Linked DNA regions of Homo sapiens: all the other regions are linked to region 4. Evidence: promoter capture Hi-C in 16 types of primary human blood cells and fetal thymus (Javierre and others, 2016). All regions are on one chromosome and are shown on one strand. The core of a region is centred on a gene start or on the middle of the fragment in contact, and the rest is flanking DNA. Distances in the headings are between cores, read along the strand shown. Region 1 has its middle 11 kb from the start of GNLY. Region 2 overlaps ST3GAL5 (ST3 beta-galactoside alpha-2,3-sialyltransferase 5). Region 3 holds the start of RNF181 (ring finger protein 181). Region 4 holds the start of KDM3A (lysine demethylase 3A).

The links. The method cuts DNA at HindIII sites, captures the fragments that hold promoters and counts their contacts. A CHiCAGO score of 5 or more calls a contact.
Region 1: a fragment that was not itself captured here is called in contact with the fragment with the promoter of KDM3A in region 4 in 1 of 17 cell types (total B cells); the score reaches 6.1 in total B cells.
Region 2: a contact is called between a fragment that was not itself captured here and the fragment with the promoter of KDM3A in region 4, in 1 of 17 cell types (naive CD4 T cells). The highest score is 5.8, in naive CD4 T cells.
Region 3: a contact is called between the fragment with the promoter of RNF181 here and the fragment with the promoter of KDM3A in region 4, in 7 of 17 cell types (naive CD8 T cells, fetal thymus, total B cells and 4 more). The highest score is 11.7, in naive CD8 T cells.

What each region holds. Positions count from the first base shown.
Region 1 is chr2:85,704,430-85,707,129 of GRCh38, reverse strand. No RefSeq gene overlaps it. Among named protein-coding and RNA genes, the nearest start is that of GNLY, 11 kb to the right of the region's middle. RefSeq lists an enhancer at 1,669-2,170. The HindIII fragment of the contact is 1,329 bases long and covers 786-2,114 here.
Region 2 is chr2:85,877,479-85,880,357 of GRCh38, reverse strand. All of the region lies in intron 1 of ST3GAL5 (ST3 beta-galactoside alpha-2,3-sialyltransferase 5), which reads left to right. Among named protein-coding and RNA genes, the nearest start is that of ST3GAL5, 10 kb to the left of the region's middle. The HindIII fragment of the contact is 875 bases long and covers 828-1,702 here.
Region 3 is chr2:85,594,198-85,596,994 of GRCh38, reverse strand. RNF181 (ring finger protein 181) reads right to left here and starts at 1,250. Exons shown (of 5, transcript NM_016494.4): 1 at 1,146-1,250; 2 at 346-476; 3 at 64-173. The coding sequence starts at 1,231. RefSeq lists a silencer at 1,219-1,358. The HindIII fragment of the contact is 2,864 bases long and covers 14-2,797 here.
Region 4 is chr2:86,439,850-86,442,639 of GRCh38, reverse strand. It overlaps KDM3A (lysine demethylase 3A), which reads right to left and starts at 1,269. Exons shown (of 26, transcript NM_018433.6): 1 at 1,196-1,269; 2 at 407-622. The coding sequence starts at 592. RefSeq lists enhancers at 426-485, 1,476-1,555, 1,636-1,835, 1,657-2,200 and silencers at 686-735, 956-1,345. The HindIII fragment of the contact is 3,261 bases long and covers 1-2,736 here.

The sequences.
Region 1 (2,700 bases), core at 201-2,700, 740 kb after region 4:
GGGTGGAGGGTGGACAGAGCTTATTGAGGTCCCAAGCCAGGCAAGGAGCTGGGCAGGTTCTCGGGCTCTGCCCCTTCACACTCAGATCTCCCCGACCCAGGGCCTGGTGGGGCTTACAAAGACGCACAAAGTCATGCGTGCAGGCTCTCTATCTGGGGCTGGAGAAGCAAGAGGCTCCATTTGAAGCAAGAAACAGAGACCCACTCAACATGGCTAAAAAGGGGGGTGAGAGGGGGGCAATGGGGCCCCACTGTGGGACCTTGTGTCCATCTAACCACAGAATAAGAGGCTCAGACACAGGAAATCAAGATGACGGCAGTCACTTCCCCTGTTAGTGTCCTCATACTACCAGTCCTGCTCCCATGAGTGGCAGGAGAGGGCAAGAGGCACCCACGGGGGGCGTGCTGGAAGTCTGTTGCAAGAACCCCAGGGTTTTCGGCCTGAGCAAGGGGAAAGCATATCTCACTTAGGTCACCATTTTTCTACGGGTAAATCTCCATCCAGTTCCTGATTCTGTCAGAGACATCTCTTCCTATTTGGAAGTACCACAGTGACAGTACCCACCTGCCAGCACAAGCTGTGCTGGGAATTTGGCACTGCCTATTCCTCTGCCTATCTTCTTTTGGAGAATTATCTGGCACCTACTTTGTACAGTCTTGGTGGAGAGTAAACCCAGCATCCGCCATCCCATTCCTAAGACAAAAGGGTCTTCCAGGTGCCCTGCCGCTGCCTGACTTTCCTCTCGCCATCTTACAGCAACCAAAGGCAGGCATGAGAACTAAGCTTGGACTTGCTTTCCTAGGAATGTGACTATGGAGTAAGAAACACAAGGACAGAAGGAGTGGTGGAAGCTCATTCATCCCAGTAATGGCACCTAGGCAAGACTGTGGAACCGTCCCTGCTTCCAAAACCATCTGAGCTGCCTGGCCCCTGTCTGTTTAAGCTCTGTTCTAGTCCTTCCCTTCCATCCTGTGGCAGCCATGGCCGCCCTGTCACTTCCCTTGTCTTAATTTAGGCTGAGTCCATTTCTGCTTCTTATCATCAATGAGCCTGGCCTTATACGAGCTCATCCTGAGGAAGAAAGAATTCCTATTTCCCCTTCCGAGGGAAGACCAAGGTGGAGCCTAAAGAAAAAATATGACCTTCCTACCCTGAGGGAATAAACTTGCTATGATTCTTAGCCGAAAAGAAGTCTACATAATTTGCTAGGCCTAACCAACAGCCAGTTGGTAACTTCTAAGCAGAACATGGAAAACCTGAGTGTGCTTGGCAGAAAGTTAGGACACCTGTTATGAAAAGGGAAGAGAGGAGTGGAATTTCAAGTGGTTACTCAACTCACCCACTCTCTATTGCATCACTCCTCAGACTTGTGCTGGGAACATTGCAGGGTCAAGCCCATTGCCTCACAGGATGAAGGAAATGGTCAACACTGTCAGGGACTTGGTTTTCCTCCCCCCAGCCATTTCCAGTCCTGTGCAGAGCATTCTGGTCCTGCTATTCCTCAAGGATATGTGCCCAGATTATTTACCCCAAGTTACAAGGGAGCTCAGGCCTCCATTCTTTGGAGAAAGGTGGATTTGTGTGGTGGTTCACAGCTAAGACTGCCTGGATTCAAATCCCAAATCTGCCAAGGCAATTATGGGGACTGAGCCCCCAACCTGTGGGATCTGACACTGTCTCCAGATAAATAGCGTCAGAATTGAGTTGGAGGACACCTAGCTGGTGTCCACTGCGGAACTGACTGCTTGCTTGCTGGTGGGGAGAAACAGCCACGTATTTAGGAGTCAGAGAAGTCTTCTGTGTTGATTGTTGTTGTGTTGGTGTAAGAGCAGAGGAAAAACATGGTTTGTTTTTCCATAAAAGGCATTGTTGAAAACAACAGAGCAATCAGCCAGGAATTAGCGTAGTTTAACGGATAGCTGTGGTCAGAGAAAGAAATAGATAAGAGAGCCCCGCCAAAACCACTGTCATTACAGGATGACTGTGGGTACACTCAAGGCAACGCTCCTTAAGGTGCAACATCAGAGGCTTCACACTGTGGCAGGTGGGGGAATTCACTAAAATAATCCAACCAGTCACCAAACAACAAAACAAGTAAATAACAGTATCAAGCTTGGGTAGGGGCAGGGGGATGACCGGTAGCCAGATATGTGACAATATATTGTCTAAAAAGCCCAGTTTCCCAGAGAAACTTAAGAGCTATAAAAAGAAATAAAAGAGTGATCCATACACACACACACAAAAAAAAAACAGGAACAGAAACTGCCTGTGAAAGCAACCAGATATCAGATTTAACAAAGATTTCCTAGCAACCATTATAAATATGTTCAGAAATAACTAAAGAAAACTGTGATTGAAGAAGTAAAGAAAGATATGATGATAATGTCTCATCAAATAGAAATATTAATACAGAGATAGAATTATTCTTAAAAAGAACCAAATGGAAATTCTGGAGTTGAAAAGTACAATAACTAGTGGGGCACGGTGCCTCACACTTGTAATCCCAGCACACTGGGAGGTCGAGGCAGTCAGATCACCTGAGGTCAGGAGTTCGAGACCAGCCTGGCCAACATGGCAAAACCCCATCTCTACTAAAAATACAAAAATTAGGCTTGGTGGTACGCGCCTGTAATCTCAGCTACTCGGGAGGCTGAGGCAGGAGAATTGCTTGAACCCAGGAAGCAGAGGTTGCAGTGAGCC
Region 2 (2,879 bases), core at 16-2,515, 560 kb after region 4:
TAAAAGAAAATTATATGTTTTAGTTAGACCTGAATATATGTTGTTGGTTTTAGAAATGGAAATGTAACTTGTTCTGAGTTTTAAGCAGCCCAAACAAAATCTCCTTTTGTCTCCTGTACAATTCCTCCCTCTCCTTCCAACCCTAAATTGCCAGGTCCTGCCAAACTCCGGGTTGTCACTGTCCCAGTCACTGTCCCTCCAGTTCCTTTTCTAGGGTCATTATTTTCTGATTTGGGGCTTTCTATGACTCCTCTGGTTCTTCTGTTCCTATAAGACATACAGGATTACTGAATACCATGGGTTATTGGAAAAAACTGCCTAGCAAATTCCCTATCTTCCCTTCCCATCCACCTGGACAGCTGTTCCCTGAAGAATATTTCTAAGATCCTATTTGGTGATATCACTTTTATAGTCCAAAACCTTAAGAACTTTCACCTTATGCTTTCTGCGGCAGTGGGATCTTCATTGTTTTAGAAATTGCCCACAAACTTTCCCATCATCTGATACCCTGTGTTCCCCATTCTGCTCAAGTTTAGTAAAAGGCCCATATGTTGGAGCCTTTGGGTACTGGGTCCCAGAATTGCTTTTTGTTAACTGTCAGTTCTGCTGACTTTCACTTTCTCCTGTTAAGTATTATTTATTCAGCCCAACTACTTGTATTTCCTTTGGGTTAAGAGGGAAATGTTCCATTAAACATTTAGCTTCTAGATTTTGCCTTATTTGGGGTATTCATGGGGTTGCCACAGAGTTGTTCTCTCATAGCAGATTCTGCGTGTATAATGTGCTGTCACACAGGCCCACCACAGGAAAGCTATTATGTAAAAGCTTGATGGGACCCCAGGGGGAGGGGCAGTTCTAGGGGCAATTTCTTCAGTTTACCCCTAGTGTCATGTCTTGCTCCCTCTGGCCTCTTTCTCTTTGAGGGACACCCCTACCTTCACCATTAAATCATTTTGAGAAACAGTAACATTTGAAGCCTTCTTGCATACCTTCTCCCCTGCGACTCCCCTCTTTAGCCACCTGAATTTGTTACACAGGATGGGTCTTGGCTGGCCCAGTGCTATAATAATAGCCCCTCCTGGCTTGGGCACCAAGTCCTGTGGCACCTTCCTCCTCCACATCTCTTGGTTGGCCACCTTCCGGCCTTTCTGGCTGTGGCTCAGCTCCTCCGTCACCCCTCACTGCACTGATCTCAGTGGTCTTTTGATTACCCTGTCCCTTGGCCTCTTTCATGCCAGTATGAGCTCACCACTCTCCTACTTAAGAACCACTTAGGGCCATCCTCCTTTGTGTAACATAAGAGAGCCTGGTTCCTTCCTAGCTGCGTCTTCTGCCCACTGTTCCCCAGGCCCCTGTAATCTGGCCCGAGCACACACCTCTCTCTGTGTGTCTTGGCATTACCTTCCTTCTGTCTGGAATGCCGCCTCCTCTCTCTGTCCTGTCTCCAGAGTCTTAGTCATTCTTCGAGGACCCATTCATACATAACCTCCTCAGGGAGGCCTCCCTGATTTCCTCTGATGGAGCCTGTGGTTTCCTGCCCAGGATGCACAAGGTCTACTGTAGCTCCTCTATCACAGCGTTATTTGGTATTTCGAGTATTTGGGCATTTTCAGTTTTCCTAGCTGGATTATTCATTTAAAGAGGAAAGCGGCTGTGTCTTATTTATTTTTATATTCCCAGTGCTTGGTGTATGGAAGAAGCTTATGAAATTTTTATTTAAAGGATTGTTAGGTAAACAAAGAAAATTAGACAACCATACAGACCAGCCCTTCTCAACTGAGGTTCTACAAGAGACTTTTGTCCCAATACTGTCAGGCGACCATTGTATGTTATGAATTAACTTCTCTCCTTGCTTCTGGAATGATTCTAGTTATAGATCATTCCTGGGAGAATTGAGAAAAATCTGTTCTTTTTTGTAGGACTTCATTCCCGAGTGGAATGCACCTTGAATGAGGCTGGTGTAGATAGCATGACCCCCGTCATGATAGTATATCTATGCAAAGAGCAGAGGCTGACAGAATACAGACCAGAATGTTAACAGTGGGTATCACTGGGTTGTAAGATAACAGTGATTTTTAAATGTTCTGTTCTTATATTATTTTCTGAAATTTCTACTTGTGTCCTAACAGGGTTTTTAAAATATTTCTTGGGTAAGGCAAATCAGAGTTTCTAAACCTGGTCATCAGTTGAGAGTAGAGTTCTTGTTTTTAAATGTAGCTGCCTACATTGTGCCACAGTGAGCTGGGAATCACCAAGCTGAGCCGTGCAGCGTTGCCCTTGGAAAATCAGGCATTGGTGTGAGGATGGCTCCAGCTGTTAGCTCTCTGGACCTGGGTGTCTCTTCTTGCTGCCACTGGACACTTTGTGAATTGAAGGGCTAAGTTTCTAGCAGACATGGAAGCACCAATAGAGAAATTACCATACTCCCAACTCATATATACTGTATTCTCAAAAGAAAATCTAAAGGTTATTTTTTTTTCTTAATAGCTAAGAGTGAACATAAATGGGGAAATTAAGTCTGATAGGAGTCTTACATGTTAATTTTTGTTCATCACCTACTGTTTTATCCAGCCCTAGTTTCATTCCTGAGGTTTGAATTTGTTTGACCTCACAGAGTCATATCCTTCTCCTGCAAGAATCTACTGGTGGATACTGAAACAAGTAGATTTGATGATAAACAGGATATTTACTTAGTCTGTAAGTATCTCCCATCAAGTCACTTATTAATTACGAAGGGAAAATAGTCAACTCGACAGTGGAAGAACCTGGCATCTACCACCTTAACCCTTAATCAAATCAACATCACATGCCTCCTGAGAAGTGCTTTGAGAAGCGCACAGGATCACTTCTGTGATATTCCAGCCAAAAATGCATAAGTT
Region 3 (2,797 bases), core at 1-2,500, 850 kb after region 4:
ACAGAAAGAAGCTTGAGTACTGGGCCCAGGGCACGGTGAGAGCTAGAAGAAGAGAAGCAGTACCTTGCTTAGCCAGGGCAGAATGCAGCTGGAATGGAAAAGGTGATGGCAAGGCATCTCAATGGCAGTCTCCTCCTCCTCAAATTCCAAAAGACACACGGGGCACTTGAGCTCTTTAGGAAGGAGTGCTGATCAGGAGAGCTGCTACAGGCTCTGCCTCCCAAGCTCCCACTCCTGAAGGACACTTGCCCCCACCTGACCTGGAAAACTGAAGGACCAGACCACAGTCTGGCTTGGGGAAGGGGTGGGTCTGGCCCAAATAGCAGAAAGAATCAGTGTCCTCACCAGCCTGAGAGCCTCTGATGACTGTCCTGGGGAGGTTCTCAACCACAGTCTTGGCAGCTGGTGGAGGCAGGTGGTGGTCCCAATCTACTACCAACCCCAAGTCTTCAAAGTCCATCCTATTGAAAAGTGACCTGGGGAAGGGGATGTAAAGTCAGAACAAAGGAAAACTATGCTTTTTCTTTGTCCCCATAATCCACTGGACATTAATAAACACGCTGCCCAGCTAGTAGGAATAATAGCTACCCTTAGTAGTTAGTAGATGCTCACTAGATAAAAAGCACGATGGGAAATAGTTTACAACTGCTATCAGACCGCCCCAGCACGTAAAGTGTTTATTCCCATTTTACACATGAGGCAACAGATTCAGAGAAGTTACTCAGGCTACGCTGAATAACCTGGTAGAGCCCAGATTCCAAGACCAAGCCAGATTCCAGGTCCAGTAACAGCAGTGCCTGCTGTTACTGATGAATATACCCACTCACAGCACACGGCCCCAACCCCGCCCCCATGCCTCACCTTCTCTGAGACCTCCCAGAGCCTGCTGTCCTTCCGCCCCCACGCCCACCACTCTCCAGCTCCAATCTTTCCCGCAATCCCCTTGCCCCAGGCCGGCCCAACGGACGGCCCAAATTATCGAGATGCTCATCCCCACACCCCTCAGTCTCGCCGCCCGTACTAACACTCCAGATTACTCATCTGTCCTCCCCAGAATCCGCTGCCCCTGGTAATCCGCCTTCTCCAGCCAGCCCCAGCCCAGAAACCTGCTGGTTGGACCCTATCCCCAAGCCCCGCGCACCCACCTTGCGAGCTCCAGCAGCATGTTGGTTCGCGTCTCCTGCTCAGGGTCCGACGGCTCGCAGTCGTGTTCATCGAAATAGGACGCCATGGCTGCCCAGCCTTCTGACACAGCCCTCGGACCCTGCTCGATAGCGGCCTAGCGGCGCTGGCCAATAAACTGACGAGCTGAGAGAGGCTGGCCAATCAGAGTATCCGAGGGACGGGCATAGTGGCTCGTTAAACAGCACGGAAAGCGGAAGTACTAATTCGGCCCCCTCTCATTGGCTTGAACAAGTCAGGTGACCAGAGACTAACGCCAATGATGGAGATCTGGCTGGTGAGGAATCATTTGTTTTGGAGTCGGAGCCAAGACTGAATTCCCGGGGATTTCTGGCGCGATCGCGTCCAAGTGTCTGGTGTGTAAGGCTCTTCAGTCTGCCCTGAAGCTCAGAGGGCTTCGACAGTACAGATGCTAGAGGCCTCTGCGAGCAAAGGCGGCGCTGGCCCAGGGGTTCAGGTTCCTGCGAGCGTTGGCCCATGGCGCTTCCGGATGCGCTGTCCGGATCCCCGCCGGACACTTCTGCCCCCGCGGCCCTCTAGTTGGTTCACCAGTTTGCGTTTGATTCCTGCGCATTTCTTATGTGTTAGGCATAATAATAAAGGGTGGGGCAAGCCTCCCCAACTGAGAGAGATCTCTTTGCCGGAGAACCTGGGGCCTCAACCAGCTCATGGGACTGTTACCTTCAGCCCGTTGCTATCCCTAGCTTCTGTAAAACTGCTGGCTTGTACTAAGACCTTTTCATTCCTGGCTACACATGAATTCCCAGAGGAGAGAATGGGCGCGGAGGAGCTTTAGAAACACCCGTGTCTGATACCTTCGAAGATTCTGATTTAACTGATCTGTGGTGGGGCCTGGGCAATGGCACTTGTATAAATTATGCAGGTGAAGCAGGTTTAAGAACCACTGCACTCAATGATTTGGATGATAGGTACTATTTAGCATCTAGAACTGTTAGTCTGATGTATGTTTTACACGCTCGATCATCCCCTCAATAGACCCAGGAGCTAAGCGTCATTATGCCCTTTTTACCTCAGAAGTGGCTTGCCCAAATTTGCAGTCTGTAAGTGGTGTTGCAGACCAGCTGCAGGGCCAAGTGCTTTCCTCCATCTTTCCCAAGAGAGGAAGACGCTAATGCGCTCAGTAAAACTAACACGCTCTGTAAGGGGTGAAGCTCCACACAACTCAGGCTTATTCTGGTTTCTGTCAGTAGCGCTCACTTTACCCAGCAAGGAACTGCTTATTTTACACACTTGACCCTGAATTCCCCTTGCCACTCACACCTGAGTTTGAACTGCAGCTAAGTAGCCCAGGCAGAGGCTGCCCTGTTTCCACAGTCTTGGTGTGGCTTTATTTCCTTCTTCCATGCCTTTGCCCAATGATCTTTGCTATGGCCCTGAAGGCACTGCCTCCCTGGCCTATATGGCCCTGTAGCTTTGAAAAGCCTGAATTCAGGCTGGACATGGTGGCTCACGCCTGCAATCCCAGCACTAAAGGCAAGAGAATTGCTTGAGCCCAGGAGTTCGAGACCAGCCTCGGCAACATAGACCCCGTCGAAAGAGGGAGGGAGAGAAGACACAGGAGAGACCCCGTCGAAAAAGGAAGGAAGGGAGGGAG
Region 4 (2,790 bases), core at 20-2,519:
GGAACAAACAAACAAAACCAGCTGAAAGTACTTCCAAGCACTAACCTTCAATTCTTAATGACTCCAAACGTCACTTACAGGCCCTACCTAACGCTAACAAAAATACTCCTCCTCCTCTGCAGTAAAGATGAGACAGTCCTGGTGGGACACAGCACCGGCATTAATGAAGCGTGTCTGAACAACCCTAAGCCCATTATTAAAGCCAGGCAGCCAGGAGCTGTGGGCCAAACACAACTCGGCTCTATACAACCATTCCAAAGACTTTCAAGATCTAGCTTCCTGCACCTTCAGATCATATGCCAACTTTCTGGTCTCCGTTTTCAGAAAACGGAAGGAGGGAACCGATGGTCGCGTTACCACGGTAACTGCGAAACGTCCGGTGGCAGAGGCCCGGAGCCGCCTGTACCTTCAGATCCTTCTTGGTAACGTCGGTGTGGGAAACAGCTCGAATGGTCCCGGAGAGCCAGGGCCACTCGGCGACGCGCTCCACGTCCCAGCTGTCGTGGCTGCCATCGCTGCCGTCGGCTGCGGACAGACTGAGAAACCTCCTCCCCACCAATACCGGCCAACTTTCTCCGAGCGTGAGCACCATGGTTTCCACGCCTGCAGGAAGAGCTCCTCCCTGCAAAAACACAAAAACAAAATGCGACGGGGGCGGCCGGTGGGAGGGGGCCGGGCGGAGACAGCAGGGAGGGCGGGCGGAGGGCGCCGAACCCGCGCGAGGACGCGGCCCCGGGCGGACCCGCACCGAGCCCCCCTCCTGCGCCCTCCCGCCCCCCGCCGCCCTCCCCCGCCACACACCCGGGCCCCAGCGCCGCGTGACCCTCGCTCTCCCAAGTTTGGCTTTTCTAACAGCTCAAACGCAACCGCAGAGGGAGTGAGGGAAAAATTATCTGCGGCTCGAGTGGATTTGAAAGTGCTCAGCCCCCAGCCCCGAAAAGAAAAGGCCCCTGGTGCAGAGAGCCGGTCCCGGGCGGCTGGGTCCCCGCCCCGGGCGGCCCCACGGGGGAGGGTGGGCGAGCCCGCGATTCCGCACTTGCCCCGCCGCCCCGCCCCGGCGCCCAGCTCCCCGGCCCCGAACCCCGGGCGCCCGTCTCCCGGGCCTGCGCCGCTGCCAACGGGCGACGGGGCCGCGCGCTCGGCGCTTTCACCTTTCTCTCCCCTCTCCCCGCAGCCGAGGCCGCGGCGCTCTTACCCCGCCTCCCGCCTCCCTGAGTCACCGGCGGCAGCCGCCGTTTCCAGCCGCCTAGCCGACTCCAGCGCTGACTTGGTTCAAGAGCTCTCACAAGACACGCACAGCCTCCCGGACCCGCCCCCCTCGGAGCCGCTTCCGCCGCTCATTGGCTGAAACACAGGAGCTGGGCGAGGCTCCGGGGGAAACAGATCATCACCATTGGCCCCCCGGGCGAGGGCGGGGCCAGAGAAAAAAACAATTCCTTGGCTGCCTCCTCCCTTTCCCCTCCCCCTTCCGACTCCCGGGCGACCCCCATTAGGTTAAAGTACACAGAGAATAAGCGAGTGATCCCTCCGCCATAGGCCTATTCTTTCCATTTGTTGCCTCACAGTATGCAAAAAAAAAGTCCCGCGAAATCGGTTATCAACTTTGGGGCCCGGAGGAAAATTGCTGTGGCGCATAGATAAGACTGAATGGCGAGACCCTGAGCTATAAGTGCCTACTGGATTGTTCTTCAACCGCGTAGGCTGTCGACCGAAGATGAGCCTTCCACTTGGCGGAAGAATCTCACAGGAAAGGGTGAGGGCGGTGCAGGGTTAGCGGGGGAGGGCAGGGAAGAGAACGTGCGGTTTCAGGCGTACTCAGCTAGAGGGAGGAGCGATAGTGCTCTGGAGGCTCGTGCGCAGGCGCCTCGCCGAGCTTAGGCTGCTGGGCGAAATGGCTGCGGGAGGCGCAGGCGCACGTGGTACTGATCGTGGAACGTCTAAAGTCCGCCATTTTGAAGGATAAATGAAGAAAGGCGTGGAGTTACTGGATAATGACGTTCATTAAATTTAGAGCAAAAGAGACCTTTAAATACAATGTATAATGAGATTTTTTTTTCTCCAAAGTGGGATTGAGAAGGTATTCAGATACTTACAAAGAAATTTAAAGTAGTTGAAGGCCATAATGAATGATGGAAGAGATGAAAGAGAAGGTGACTTTGAAGGACAAAGGAGTTTAGAGGTGATTGTGTGCTCTGGACCTGAAGTATTTTGATTGAATGAAAAAGAAATGGAATGAAGAAATTGAAGATATGTTCATAAAGGCTAGTGTTTGACATTACATCACATTTAATCCTTAAGAAGAACTCATGCCTCCCATTTTACAAGCGTGGAAACGTATAATCAGAGAATGTTTGGAAACATATAAGGGATTATAGATGCAAATCAACTCTGGATGTTGATTTTCAATATACATATTCTGAATGTGATTTTAAGTTTTTAAAGTTAGTAACAAGAATTAAATTGGATTTATAATCTGTAGACCATTTAAAGGAAGGGGGCTGCTAAATGAGAAGAAAAAACCTATCCAGCTGAAAGAAGGCAGAAATGGGAACGAGATAAGCAAAAGAAACCAGAACATATGGTAAAAATGTTTTTCATGTGAAAAGTCCAAACATCAGTATTTACAATAAATGTAAATGGGTTAATTTCACTCACAAGTTTTAAAAGACAGTTGGGAATAAAAGGACAATCCAGCTATAAATTGACCATAAGCAAATGCTTACAAAACAGGAAGCTTGAAAATACTGGGCTAAAATATTTAATCAAATGGTAGCCAAATGAAAGCAGTAT